Linked DNA regions of Homo sapiens: region 2 is linked to region 1. The links are contacts of gene promoters, found by promoter capture Hi-C in human tissues and cell types (Jung and others, 2019). All regions are on one chromosome and are shown on one strand. The core of a region is centred on a gene start or on the middle of the fragment in contact, and the rest is flanking DNA. Distances in the headings are between cores, read along the strand shown.

Region 1 (6,150 bases), core at 3,417-5,916:
TCTTTTGGTATTGAATACTTTTTCTTTTCCCAGTCGTGTTGAAATTAGTCACACAGTGACTTTTGAAATTGTCCCACTTTGTCCTGGTCTTCAGAATGAGCAGTGGTGTAATTAACACAGACCTGCAGACTTGCAGACTAATTTTCATGAACTTGAAGGTTGCCTGTGACATGGGGTGTGGCTCTGTGTCAGGAGTGTGTATCCCCTGCCGCATGGCCGCTCTACAGGATTGAGTTTGAGGAACACAGGCAGATCCCAGATGGTGACAGGCTCTGGGAAGGACTAGAGTGCATGTATTACTCCATTCTCTGACCACTCATGGCTGTAGCATCCATTCAGCATCCCCTACTCACAAGAAAGTATAGCTTGGAAAAACAAAAGAAATGTCTAGAATCTTTTTGACATCTGTATTTTTTTTTTTGGTGAATGATTTCTGACTTTTCTCCCATTATCATCATCTGAGAATTGGCTTCAAAAGGAGAAATACTTCTTTCCTAAGGGATCCCTTCAAATGATGAACATCTTTTGAGAATTTAGTGACTACTTACTGATTAAACAACTATCTAAATTACAATGGAGAGCAATCTTTTCTAGAATTAGAGCCCTCTATATTGTGGCACACGCTTCCTTCGCTTTTTCTGCTTATATGCACAGGACATAATACAGTTGATGAAAAAAATTTAACCTTACATATATATATATTTAAGGTGTATATATATAGTATATATTATAAGGTATATATATTTAAGGTAAATATATATATATATATATATATATATAGAGAGAGAGAGAGAGAGAGAGAGAGAGAGAGAGAGATTTAAAAATGGCTAGCTGACAAACCAGGTCCTGTAGGCTGCATGGTTTTCACATTCTTAGAGGTTTGTAAAGAAAAAAAAATGCAGCAGAGACCATATGGCCCACAAAACCCAAAATGTTTATTATCTGGCCTTGTACAGAAAATGTTTGCTGACTCCTGAACCACGTGGCAAGTACCAATAACGAAGCACACTCGCTTTTTACTTTCATGAAGAAATGCATTGTCTTTTCTCCTTTGAAGTATCCACTTCCGCTGGTAAAATCAGTCTTCACAGCTATTCTAAAAGGAGGCTGAGAAACCTTCTCTAGCTGGCTCTGTAACACAGGCTGTCCCAGCGAGCTCCTGGGTATAAGCTGCTCTTGAGCCAGAGCTGCTGTTTGAGGCTTGTTCATGCTCTTGCTTTCACTCCCTAGATCTCTCTTAGTATCAGCACCATCCACTAATTTGCTGCACACCTTCTTTGACCTTGACTTTTTGGGCAAATGCTTATTCCATTCCAATTGCTCTTGTAAGTCTGCTTTGCTACCTTCCCCTGCTTTTTTACTTATTTTACCCTCTGGACCTCTCTTCTGTCATCCCCTTCTTCTACTTTCTCCCCTAGCATCTCAGCCCTCTTGAGGCCAAGGCCTGCTACATCTAATATTTCTATTTCTGTCCTTTGCTTGCTCCTGTCCAGACCCAGTCTTCTCACTGGTTGCAAAGTGGGTCCAGTTCTACCACTGGAAACAGATTTTGGCAAATAGAGACCTTCTGATCTCCTCCCTCACCAGACCAATGGACCATTTTTGTGAACAGTATGACGACCCTTCCTGGGTATTGCTCACATGCACCCCTCATGGTGCTTACCTAGGGTCCATATTGCCTGGTGTAATTTCCTTCCCATGGACCTTCTGGCCACCTGCCTTCACCTACGACTGCAGCATTTCTCCATGTCTGCCACTGTGACTAGATCACTCCAGTGATCCTCTGATGGCCTTAGGATCCAACACACATTGGTAACCAGGGCCATTATAGCACTCAAGCTTCTGGTATATTTCTTTATTCCAGTCCATCTTGCTGAATCCCTCTGTTTCCTACCTGTGAGTGCCCCTCTATGAATGCTGATTTGATTCCAGGTACTATACTAGGCTGTGGAGTCAGAGATGACCAAGATACAGCCTTGCTCTCAGTATTTTTTGATGGAAGAATGATGATATGCACATACACGAATACAGAGCAAAGCAGTAGGTGGCAAGTGATTAAGCAAGTCACTAAATCTTATGAAAGCACAGAGGGGAATATTTAGAAGTAAACTCTATAAAAATAAAAATTCTGAACTACCTAATAAGAATATTACTAACTCTACCAAGTTGACCAATTAAATTATTTAATCAGTTAATATTTGATTCTGTTTTTAACCTTCCCTTAAATATATGGCTTAAAGACTAAACTTCCAGTAAATTTTTTCTAAGTAATGTACTCTTTCTCTGACTCATTATTTCATTTATTGATATCTTATTTTGACTCTAGCAATGTCTGTAACCATTAAAGTTCTGTAAATAAATGCAGTCTTTTGACTATAGTACATAAGACAACATCCCTCTTTGTAAATACCCCAACCCCTTATTAGAAACTATATTGAGGCCAGGTGCGGTGGATCACGCCTGTAATCCCAGCACTTTGGGAAGCTGAGGTGGGTGGATCACCTGAGGTCAGGAGTTTGAGAACAGCCTGGCCAACATGGTGAAACCCCGTCTCTACTAAAACTACAAAAATTAGCCGGGTGTAGTGGCACGTGCCTGTAATCCCAGCTAATCCCAGCTACTTGGGAGGCTGAGGCAGGAGAATCGCTTGAACCTGGGAGGCAGAGGTTGCAGTGAGCTGAGATCGCACTACTGCATTCCAGCCTGGGTGACACAGCAAGACACCATCTCAAAAAAAAAAAAAAAAAAAGAAAAAAAGAAACTATATTGAATCCTCATTCCATACCCCAAGTGCATGAAATGATGTGTTGTAACTGGTGGGTGGGTTTGGTCAGTCCAGGTTGGCTGATAGGTTTATTTATCAGAACAGACTTTAAGAGGTTGTCACTGAATTGCAAGAGATGCCTTTCAAGTAACTTGCATCTGGGTGCTTTGCACCTTTCATTTCCCTCTCCCTTCTCATTGCTTGTACATCTCCTTTCTGGCTTGCTTTCTCTCAGGCCCTTTTTCAGGATGCATATTGTGTCAAATATAAATTTGGAAAACCTAGCCAGAGAATACTTGACTTGAGGGAGACAACCCTAAGAACATTGACCTGCAGTGGGCACTCCGGTGGGGCTAGAGTGTTCACTAGCCTGCCCCAAGTGTGACTTCTGCTTGTGTGTATCACCCATTTCTTTATTCATTTAGTACATATTTTCCAAGCGATTTCTCTGTGCCTCAGACACTGTGTGAGGTCCTAGGGACACAATGGTGTGCAGAAGGGAAAACTGTTGTTGCCCTCACATGGGGGAGGTAGCAACAATTACAAATTTACAGGAATAAATATGTGATAATAATATCCTAGCTCAACATAGAAAGGAAGTTATCTCAGTATTTACCTAACAGTTTTGTAATGTGTGTGTGCGCGCGCGTATATGTCTTCTTCTTTTCTCTTTGTTAAGTGTGAGTGGAGAAGATGATGGCTAACACTGAGTTCTGTCATGGCCATGGCACTTTTATACCCACATTCTTTCTTTTAATCATGGAATTCTCCACCCCAGCCCTCACCCCGTGGATGTCGGAGTAAGACAACATTGTTATCACTCAGATTGTCATTGGGAGGGTGAATAAATGAATGCTTGCATTATGAGAGTTTGGGGGCAGAAATATGCCACAGACTCTTATCTGAAGCCATCAGATTTAGTGGCTGCGAACCCACCGAAGTCAGGGATTTACATTTTTTACAGCAACGAGAGAAAACTTCCCCTTTCCTCTGCAGAAGTCAGGACTGGATCTCAAAAATAGAAATGTGTCCTCCTAAATGTGTGCCCATCCCCGTGGTTGACAAACAACGGATTTCCCAAGATAGCTGCCACACACTTGGTTTCTAATCTCTGTATTGCTTCCCCGCCAGAATGTCGAAGTCCTTCCCGAATATGCCCAGTCATACTTTCTGAACTTTTGAGCAAACACCGTCCGGCTTCTTGTGCTTTCCTCAAAGACCCCAGGCACCGGCAGGGAGGACACAGGCCGGGGCAGAGCGCCCCTGCGCGGGGGATTCCTGCCACTCCGCGCCAGCCTGCGGCGCAAACGCTCTTCTCAGCCGCAGTCCCACCCGCTGCTGGCAATCTGAATGAGGAGCCGCGCTATTTTTACCTCCCCGGCTGCAATCCTTTATATTTACATGCAGGAAGCAAATATATAAGGGATTAAGAAGGAGATGCGTGGCCTTAGTTTATCCAGAGCAGGAAGAGGTTGGAATAGGAGAGGGTATGTGAAGTCTGGGGTGGTGGAAAAGGCAGGTGGACTTCGGCTGGTTGTTTTCTCCCGATCATCCCTGTCTCTGGCCTGGAAACCCCCGTACTCTCTTTCTTCTGGCTTATCCGTGACTGCCGGCTCCCCCTCCACCGCCCCCATCTTTTGAGGTACCACCCGTCACCTCCGATGCTGCTTGGGCTGCTGCATCACTCTGCTGCTTTACCCCCTTCCCCGCCCCCCAACAAAGCATGCGCAGTGCGTTCCGGGCCAGGCAACAGCAGCAGCACAGCATCCAGCAACAGCATCAGCACCCGAAGCCCCGCTCGGGCGCGCTCTCGGGGGGCGGGGCGCACGCCCGCTCCGCGCGTCCCCGCGCCGCTCGCTCCCGCGCGTCCCCGCGCCGCTCGCTCCCGCGCGCCGCCTCAGCATCCTCAGGCCCGGCGGCAGCCCCCGCAGTCGCTGAAGCGGCCGCGCCCGCCGGGGGAGGGAGTAGCCGCTGGGGAGGCTCCAAGTTGGCGGAGCGGCGAGGACCCCTGGACTCCTCTGCGTCCCGCCCCGGGAGTGGCTGCGAGGCTAGGCGAGCCGGGAAAGGGGGCGCCGCCCAGCCCCGAGCCCCGCGCCCCGTGCCCCGAGCCCGGAGCCCCCTGCCCGCCGCGGCACCATGCGCGCCGAGCCGGCGTGACCGGCTCCGCCCGCGGCCGCCCCGCAGCTAGCCCGGCGCTCTCGCCGGCCACACGGAGCGGCGCCCGGGAGCTATGAGCCATGAAGCCGCCCGGCAGCAGCTCGCGGCAGCCGCCCCTGGCGGGCTGCAGCCTTGCCGGCGCTTCCTGCGGCCCCCAACGCGGCCCCGCCGGCTCGGTGCCTGCCAGCGCCCCGGCCCGCACGCCGCCCTGCCGCCTGCTTCTCGTCCTTCTCCTGCTGCCTCCGCTCGCCGCCTCGTCCCGGCCCCGCGCCTGGGGGGCTGCTGCGCCCAGCGGTGGGTATGGCCCCGTGCCCTTTGCGTTGGCTTTCCCGCGGGGCCCTGCAGAGGAAAGCGAAGGGCGCGCGGGTCCGTGTGCTCCGGGCTTGTCCCCGGCTCGGCCTTTCCTTCCCTCCCTGCCTGTCTTTCCACCCTTCTCGTTCCCAAACCCCCATTCATCCCAGTTCACTTTTGGAAGTCCATTTCTGTTGCATTCGCGAAAAACCCATTCCAATTCTTGTTGGTTCCACTGGGAGGTGTTTAGTGGATCCTGGGTCCCTCAGCGATCTCTGTGCAACTTGCGGAGGGGCAACCAGTGGATGGGAAATACAGCGAGGGAGCAAGTTGCTACTTGCGTGGTGGAACCTTAATGTGAATGCGGGGAGGATGTAGTGATAATAGTGGTAATGGGCTGTTTCCTCAAATTTCGTATCCGGCGCATTCAGTGCGGTTGGAATTAAGGTGGGGGAGGCACACTTCGGGGACCAAAGAATTAAGGTGCTGAAGACATACTTCATGCACGACCTTTGGTTCTGATTTCTCAAAGTGCTTGTCATTATAATGAACAATTAATATAATACCATCTTCTATATATTGATGATTGGAAGTCACTGAAAGCAGAAAGCTGGCTTTGTCAGGAAAATAAAAAGAAATTGGGAAGCTGCCAGCATCTGTATCCCTACATGGCAAAGTATGTTTGCTCATCTTAAAGTTAAAAGAGAAGGGAATTGTCCATTTTGTTAAAAGAGTCGATTAATATTCGGTATCCATAAATTCAGTACTCAAGTTATCTTAGGAGCGTTCTTAGCTCTTGGATGGGATGCCACTAGGCAGAGTAGAGTTGTGCTTCTGTGGACTCAGAGAAGGGGTGGAGATCGGGGGCAGGACCCCTGAACATGTTCATTTAATGACTCTTCTTCCCTCAAGTTCATTCTACCCCCCCCCCAACACTT
Region 2 (6,052 bases), core at 1,453-3,952, 280 kb before region 1:
ATGAATCAAAGAAAGCCAAAAGTAGGTCATTTGTTTTTAACTTCATTTCATGTTAATGTAAGTAATCTTTTTCAAAGCTTGACCTTGAAGTAATTTCCTCCACATTCCTTGAATAGGTCAATATTTTAAAACCTGTACAGGTTCTTCCACAGCTACTGGTCTGCAGCTGTTCTTATGGTAGCAGTTGTGGCATTCCTCTGTGGGAAAGAAACTGTTAACACAAACACCTCTTTCTTAGCAAAACAGAAAGTGGGTATATATGTGTGACAGACACAAGATGTATCTGTAGTTTTGTTTGGCTAAGGAGATAGTCTCAAAACAAATTGAGATGGATTTGTTTGTGTCTTGGAGTAGGGTGAAAAAAATACAATTCATTATTTGAATAATGCTGTTTATTGTTTTTAGAACCTGCACTTGTTGCCAAGTCTTCCATCTTACTAGATGTGAAACCTTGGGATGATGAGACAGATATGGCGAAATTAGAGGAGTGCGTCAGAAGCATTCAAGCAGACGGCTTAGTCTGGGGCTCATGTGAGTTTAGGCTTTGCCTTTTTTTTTTTGAAACTAACATCTGGAATTTGCCTACAGTTTCAACCTTTCCTACAAGACTTTTCTAACTAGGATTTTTCTTAATGCTCTTTTTAGCTAAACTAGTTCCAGTGGGATACGGAATTAAGAAACTTCAAATACAGTGTGTAGTTGAAGATGATAAAGTTGGAACAGATATGCTGGAGGAGCAGATCACTGCTTTTGAGGACTATGTGCAGTCCATGGATGTGGCTGCTTTCAACAAGATCTAAAATCCATCCTGGATCATGGCATTTAAATAAAAGATTGAAAGATTACCTTTGGCTCTTGAGTATGTTACATAGGAGGGTGGTGTATATATTCCTTTCATTTTGGGGGAAGGAATTAAATGAATATGTGATTCCTAAATACCCCAAATTTGGTTTGGCATTGTTGTTAGAAAATTGCAGTGCAGGCCAGGTGTGGTGGTTCATGCCTGTAATCCCAGCAGTTTGGGAGGCTGAAGTGGCTGGATCGAGACCAGGAGGCTGATACCAGCCTGGGCAATGGGGAGAGATCCTGTCTCTACAAAAAATATAAAAATTAGCTGGACATGGTAGTGCACCCCTGTATTCCCAGCTATTTGGGAGACTGAGGTGGGAGGATTTCTTGAACCCAGGAGGTTGAAACTGCAGTGAGCCAAGGTTGTGCGACTGCACTCCAGCCTGGGTGCCAGAGCAAGGTCCTGTCAAAAGAAAAAAAATTGTAGTGCAACTTTACCCACTTGTGATGTCCTTAGCAGTGCCTGATGATGTGATTTGTTGTAACCTAGCATCTTTGCACTGGGAACTTGATGTGAGATGTGTGACACTGCTAGAAGACACCTAACCCAGAGGAGGGAGGGCTTCCCAGAATTTGGCATGACTTACAACTACTTAACAGGTTACAAATTTAAAATAATGACTCATGATGTAAAGAAACCATCTTTTAAGTGTTGGGAATGTGATTTGGAGTAGCACTGTGTCCTGGGAGGGGGATTATATAGGTAACTGGTTCCCAGGCTTCCCAGAAAAACTTGACTTTGCTGTGAAGATTCATAGGTGCTGGGTTGTAGAGGCGGAATATTTTACTTGGATTTGGAAATCTGATTGGTTCTCATGCTGCAGGTAAATACTGGGATGAGGGTAGTATGTTGAGTGAAGAGATGGTCAAGTATTGGAAACCGTTTAATCTTAACAGGGAATTTGGGGTCTGGCTAACATTTGATACATTTTTTTAAATAGTAGTTTTACAAAAGCAGTGCTTGGGAATTGCTGATCTCAAATGATCAAAAAATTTTAGGTCAATTTTTTTTTTTTTTTTTTTTTTGAGATGGAGTCTCACTCTGTTGCCTGGGCTAGAGTGCAGTGGTGTGATCTCAGCTCACTGCAACCTCGGCCTCCCAGGTTCAAGCAATTCTCCTGCCTCAGCCCCCTGAGTAGCTGGGATTACAGGCATGCGCCACCATGCCTGGCTAATTTTTCTATTTTTAGTACATACGGGGCTTCACCATTTTGGTCAGGCTGGTCTCGAGCTCCTGACCTCAGGTGATCCACCCACCTTGGCCTCCCAAAGTGCTGGGATTATAGGCATAAGCCACAATGCCCAGCCCCTAGGTCAATTTTTTAATAGAACTATACAGTGCTATTTCTTCTCCATCTGATTTTATGTTGTGACTGCCTTGACTGTGGGAAACTATATTATAAGGAAGATTTATTTAACAGATAGATACATTGAATAATATCTCTAAGCAATGTTTATAATCCAACAGCCTAAAAGTCATGGGAGACATTTTCAGGTTGTCATTATCATAAGAGCCAGCAGAGGGCAGCACTACATTTTCTGGAAAACCAGAGAGTTTGGGAATAATGAAAATGCCAAAAGAAACACAAAAAACAAAAAACCAAAACCATGAATAAACTTCGGTGAATGGTAATAAAAATTTGCAATTATTGACATGGTGAAGGGGTTGAGTTCCAAATAGCTTGGCCAAAATGTTAACTATCAGCAGAAGTTTATGATGAGAAAACTAATGATTAATAATTAGTTTAAAGGTGGTCAAAAATTTAGAATGGTCAATTCAAACCACAGATGTCTTCAGAATCCTACAGTGATGAATGATGAGGCATACCATTTTGAAATCTTGATTCTACACCCTTGAATAAAAAATATTTTGATGGTATCTTTTAACTTCATATTTTAAAAAACACATGGCCGGATGTGGTGTCTCACACCTGTATTCCCAGCACTTTGGGAGGCCGAGGCAGCTGGATCATGAGGTCAGGCGATCTAGACCATCCTGGCTAACACAGTGAAACCCTGTCTCTACTAAAAATACAAAAAATTAGCCAGGTGTGGTGGCATGCGCCTGTAGTCCCAGCTACTTGGGAGGCTGAGGCAGGAGAATTGCTTGAACCCGGGAGGCAGAGGTTGCAGTGAGCTGAGATCACGCCACTGCACTCCAGCCTGGGCGACAAAAGTGAGACTCCATCTCAAAAGAAAAAAAAAAAGATAATATACCAACAGTTCAAAACTCAAGAGTATGTACAATGAAGTCTCTCCTGTCCCCTAGGCCTCCAGTTCCGCTCCATCAAAGCAGTGTTAACAGGTTCTTAGGTCTTTGCAGAGCCACTGTAAGCTTATGCATAGACTAATTGTAACACACCACATAGACTTTTGCACCTTGCATTTTCCTTTTGAAAATGAACACCTTGGGGCCGGGTGTGGTGGCTCACGCCTGTAATCCCAACACTTTGGGAGGCCTAGGTGGGCAGATCACAAGGTCAAGAGATCCAGACAATCCTGGCCAACATGGTGAAACCCTGTGTCTATTAAAAATACAAAAATTAGCTGGCCGTGGTGGCGCACGACTGTAGTCCCAGCCACTTGGGAGGCTGAGGCAGGAGAATCGCCTGAACCCGGGAGGCGGAGATTGCAGTGAGCTGAGATTGTACCACTGCATTCTGTCTCAAAAAAAAAAAAAAAAGAGCCAGGCGCGGTGGCTCATACCTGTAATCCCAGAGGTGGGGGATCACGAGGTCAGGAGTTTGAGACCAGCCTGGCCAACATGGTGAAACCCTGTCTCTACTAAAAATACAAAAAAAAAAAAAAAAAATGAACACCTTGGAGATTATGCCTTGGATATCCCATTATTAGTACATCCTTATTTAATAGATGCATAATTCATGTTCTCATTTCATAATTCATTTTCTCATAGTTCATTTAGACAGTCTCCTGTTGACTGGATTCTTAGGTTGCTTTTAATGTTTTGTTATTATGGGCAGTGCTGCAGTAGAAAACCCTGGTACTCATTTTCTTGAGAGCCAATATATTGAATGAACTGGTTTGTTTTGTTTTGTTTTGTTTTTTTGAGGTGGAGTCTCACTCTGTTGCCTGGGCTGGAGTGCAGTGGTGCGATCTCAGCTCCCTGCAACCTCTGCCTCCCGGGTTCAAGCGATTCTCCTGCCTCAGCCTCCCAAGTAGCTGGGATTACAGGTGCCTGCCGCTATGCCCAGCTAATTTTTTGTATTTTTAGTTTGATGGGGTTTCACCATGTTGGCCAGGCTGGTCTCAAACTCCTGACCTTGTGATACCCCCTCCTCAGCCTCCCAAAGTGCTGGGATTACAGGCGTGAGCTGCTGCGCCTGGCTCATGAACTTGTTTTAAACAAATAGTCTCAGAAGGCACTGGTTTCCAAAGAGATTTTTTTTTTTCCTGTTTCTGGCTTTAGAGTAGAAGGAAGCAAAGATAAAAAAGAGCCCACTTTTTTTTTTTTTGCATGCCCCATAAATGATTATAATGACTATGAAAGTTTTTCTTTTCTTTTTTTTTTTTTTTTTGAGACAGGGTCTCAATCTATCATCCAGGCTGGAGTGCAGTGGCATGATCACGGCTCACTGCAGCCTTGAACTCCTAGGCTTAAGCAATTCTACCTCAGCCTACTGAGTAGCTGGGACTACAGGCATGTGCCACCATACCCAGCTAATTTAAAAAAATTTTTTTAGAGATGGGGTCTTGCTATGATGCCCAGGCTTTGAACTCCTGGACTCAAGTGATCCTTCCACCTTGGCCTTCCAAGGTACTGGGATTACAGGTATGAGCCAACGTGTCCAGCCTGAAACAATATTTTTCATGTTCGGCATCCCTAGCAGAGGGCTGGGCAGTGTGGGAACTCAAAACTGATTCCTTCCGTATCACTTTGTTAGATGAAACAAAAAAACACAGAAGAAGAGAAAATTAGTATAGGGAGGCAATTCAAACATAAAATTGTTAAAAATAAAAGTCATTGGTTTGGGGATTAAGCAAATAATCTAAAAGTTCAGAAGGTCAGAGACGGCTAGAATTGATGACAAGTTTTTTGGAAGAATCAGATATAAAGATTTGGGAAGCAATTAGACAAATTCGTGAGATTTTGCAGTGTGTGTTTGGAATCTTAGATAGGATGGGGCCAGCCTGTAGACATATTTGAATTACAGGCTGGCACATTATATGAGGTTTCCAAACCAGAGAATATTAATGTTAAGACAGCTTTGATCTGGAGGTGATACGAATGAAAGCAAGGAGATCAGATGACTTATAATCCTCACAGATGGAAATGTCTAAATTATGGCATATGTATTCAATGAAATGTTTTATAAACTTTATTTATTTTTTTGAGATGGAGTCTCGCTCTATTGCCCAGGCTGGCGTGCCGTGGTGCGATGTTGGCTCATTGCAACCTCCACCTCCCAGGTTCAAGCGATTCCCCTGCCTCAGCCTCCCAAGTAGCTGGGATTACTTGTGTGCGCCACAATGCCCGGCTAATTTTTGTATTTTTAGTAGAGATGAAGTTTTGCCATGTTGGCCAGGCTGGTCTTGAACTCCTAACCTCAAGTGATCTGCCCATCTCGGCCTCCCAAAGTGCTGGGATTACAGGCGTGAGCCACCACGCCCAGCCTAAACTTTGTTTTTAAAAGTAAGTCTATAGCAACATTGAGAAATGCTTGATATTTCATGGACTATTACTATGAAAAGATATGCTTATTTGTCCATGATTATTCAGTAAATATACTAAGTCACTAGTAAGTGACAGAGGAGGAACACAAGCCAGGGTCTTCATAGGCCAGTTGATGTGTTGGTAACAGAATACGGAAGGTTCTTCATCCCTGCTTTTAGACAGTTTAATCCTATTTCATCAGTGTAATCCTTGCTTCATATTCTCATGAATATGATGAGGTGAGGTGAGGTGATAAGAAAATATGGTGAGGGATAAGAAAATATCACATAAGGGTAAATTTTACCTTGTGTAAATTGAGACTTAAACACTAAAACACTGTTCTAGGCAGAGGTTCTCAAACCTCAATTCTTGATGTCTGTCCACTCACAGGCTCAACACTACATGGAAGCTGCCAAGGCTTGAGGCTTGAACCCTCTGAAGCCATGGCCCAAGCTCTACGCTGGACCCTTTCAACCATGGCTGGAGTGGCTGGGATGCAGTGCACCAAGTCCCTAGGTTGCACACAGCACG

Evidence for each region. The method cuts DNA at HindIII sites, captures the fragments that hold promoters and counts their contacts. A contact is called where the count stands out against the background at its distance.
Region 2: a contact is called between a fragment that was not itself captured here and the fragment with the promoter of ADAM23 in region 1, in 1 of the 25 tissues and cell types used here (hippocampus).

The regions. Positions count from the first base shown.
Region 1 is chr2:206,438,866-206,445,015 of GRCh38, forward strand. ADAM23 (ADAM metallopeptidase domain 23) reads left to right here and starts at 4,667. Exons shown (of 26, transcript NM_003812.4): 1 at 4,667-5,215. The coding sequence starts at 5,002. RefSeq lists a silencer at 5,112-5,241. The HindIII fragment of the contact is 14,990 bases long and covers 1-6,150 here.
Region 2 is chr2:206,162,084-206,168,135 of GRCh38, forward strand. It overlaps EEF1B2 (eukaryotic translation elongation factor 1 beta 2), which reads left to right. Exons shown (of 6, transcript NM_001959.4): 4 at 1-21; 5 at 406-531; 6 at 646-845. The coding sequence ends at 800. It overlaps SNORA41 (small nucleolar RNA, H/ACA box 41), which reads left to right and starts at 145; the gene lies at 145-276. The HindIII fragment of the contact is 6,047 bases long and covers 1-5,726 here.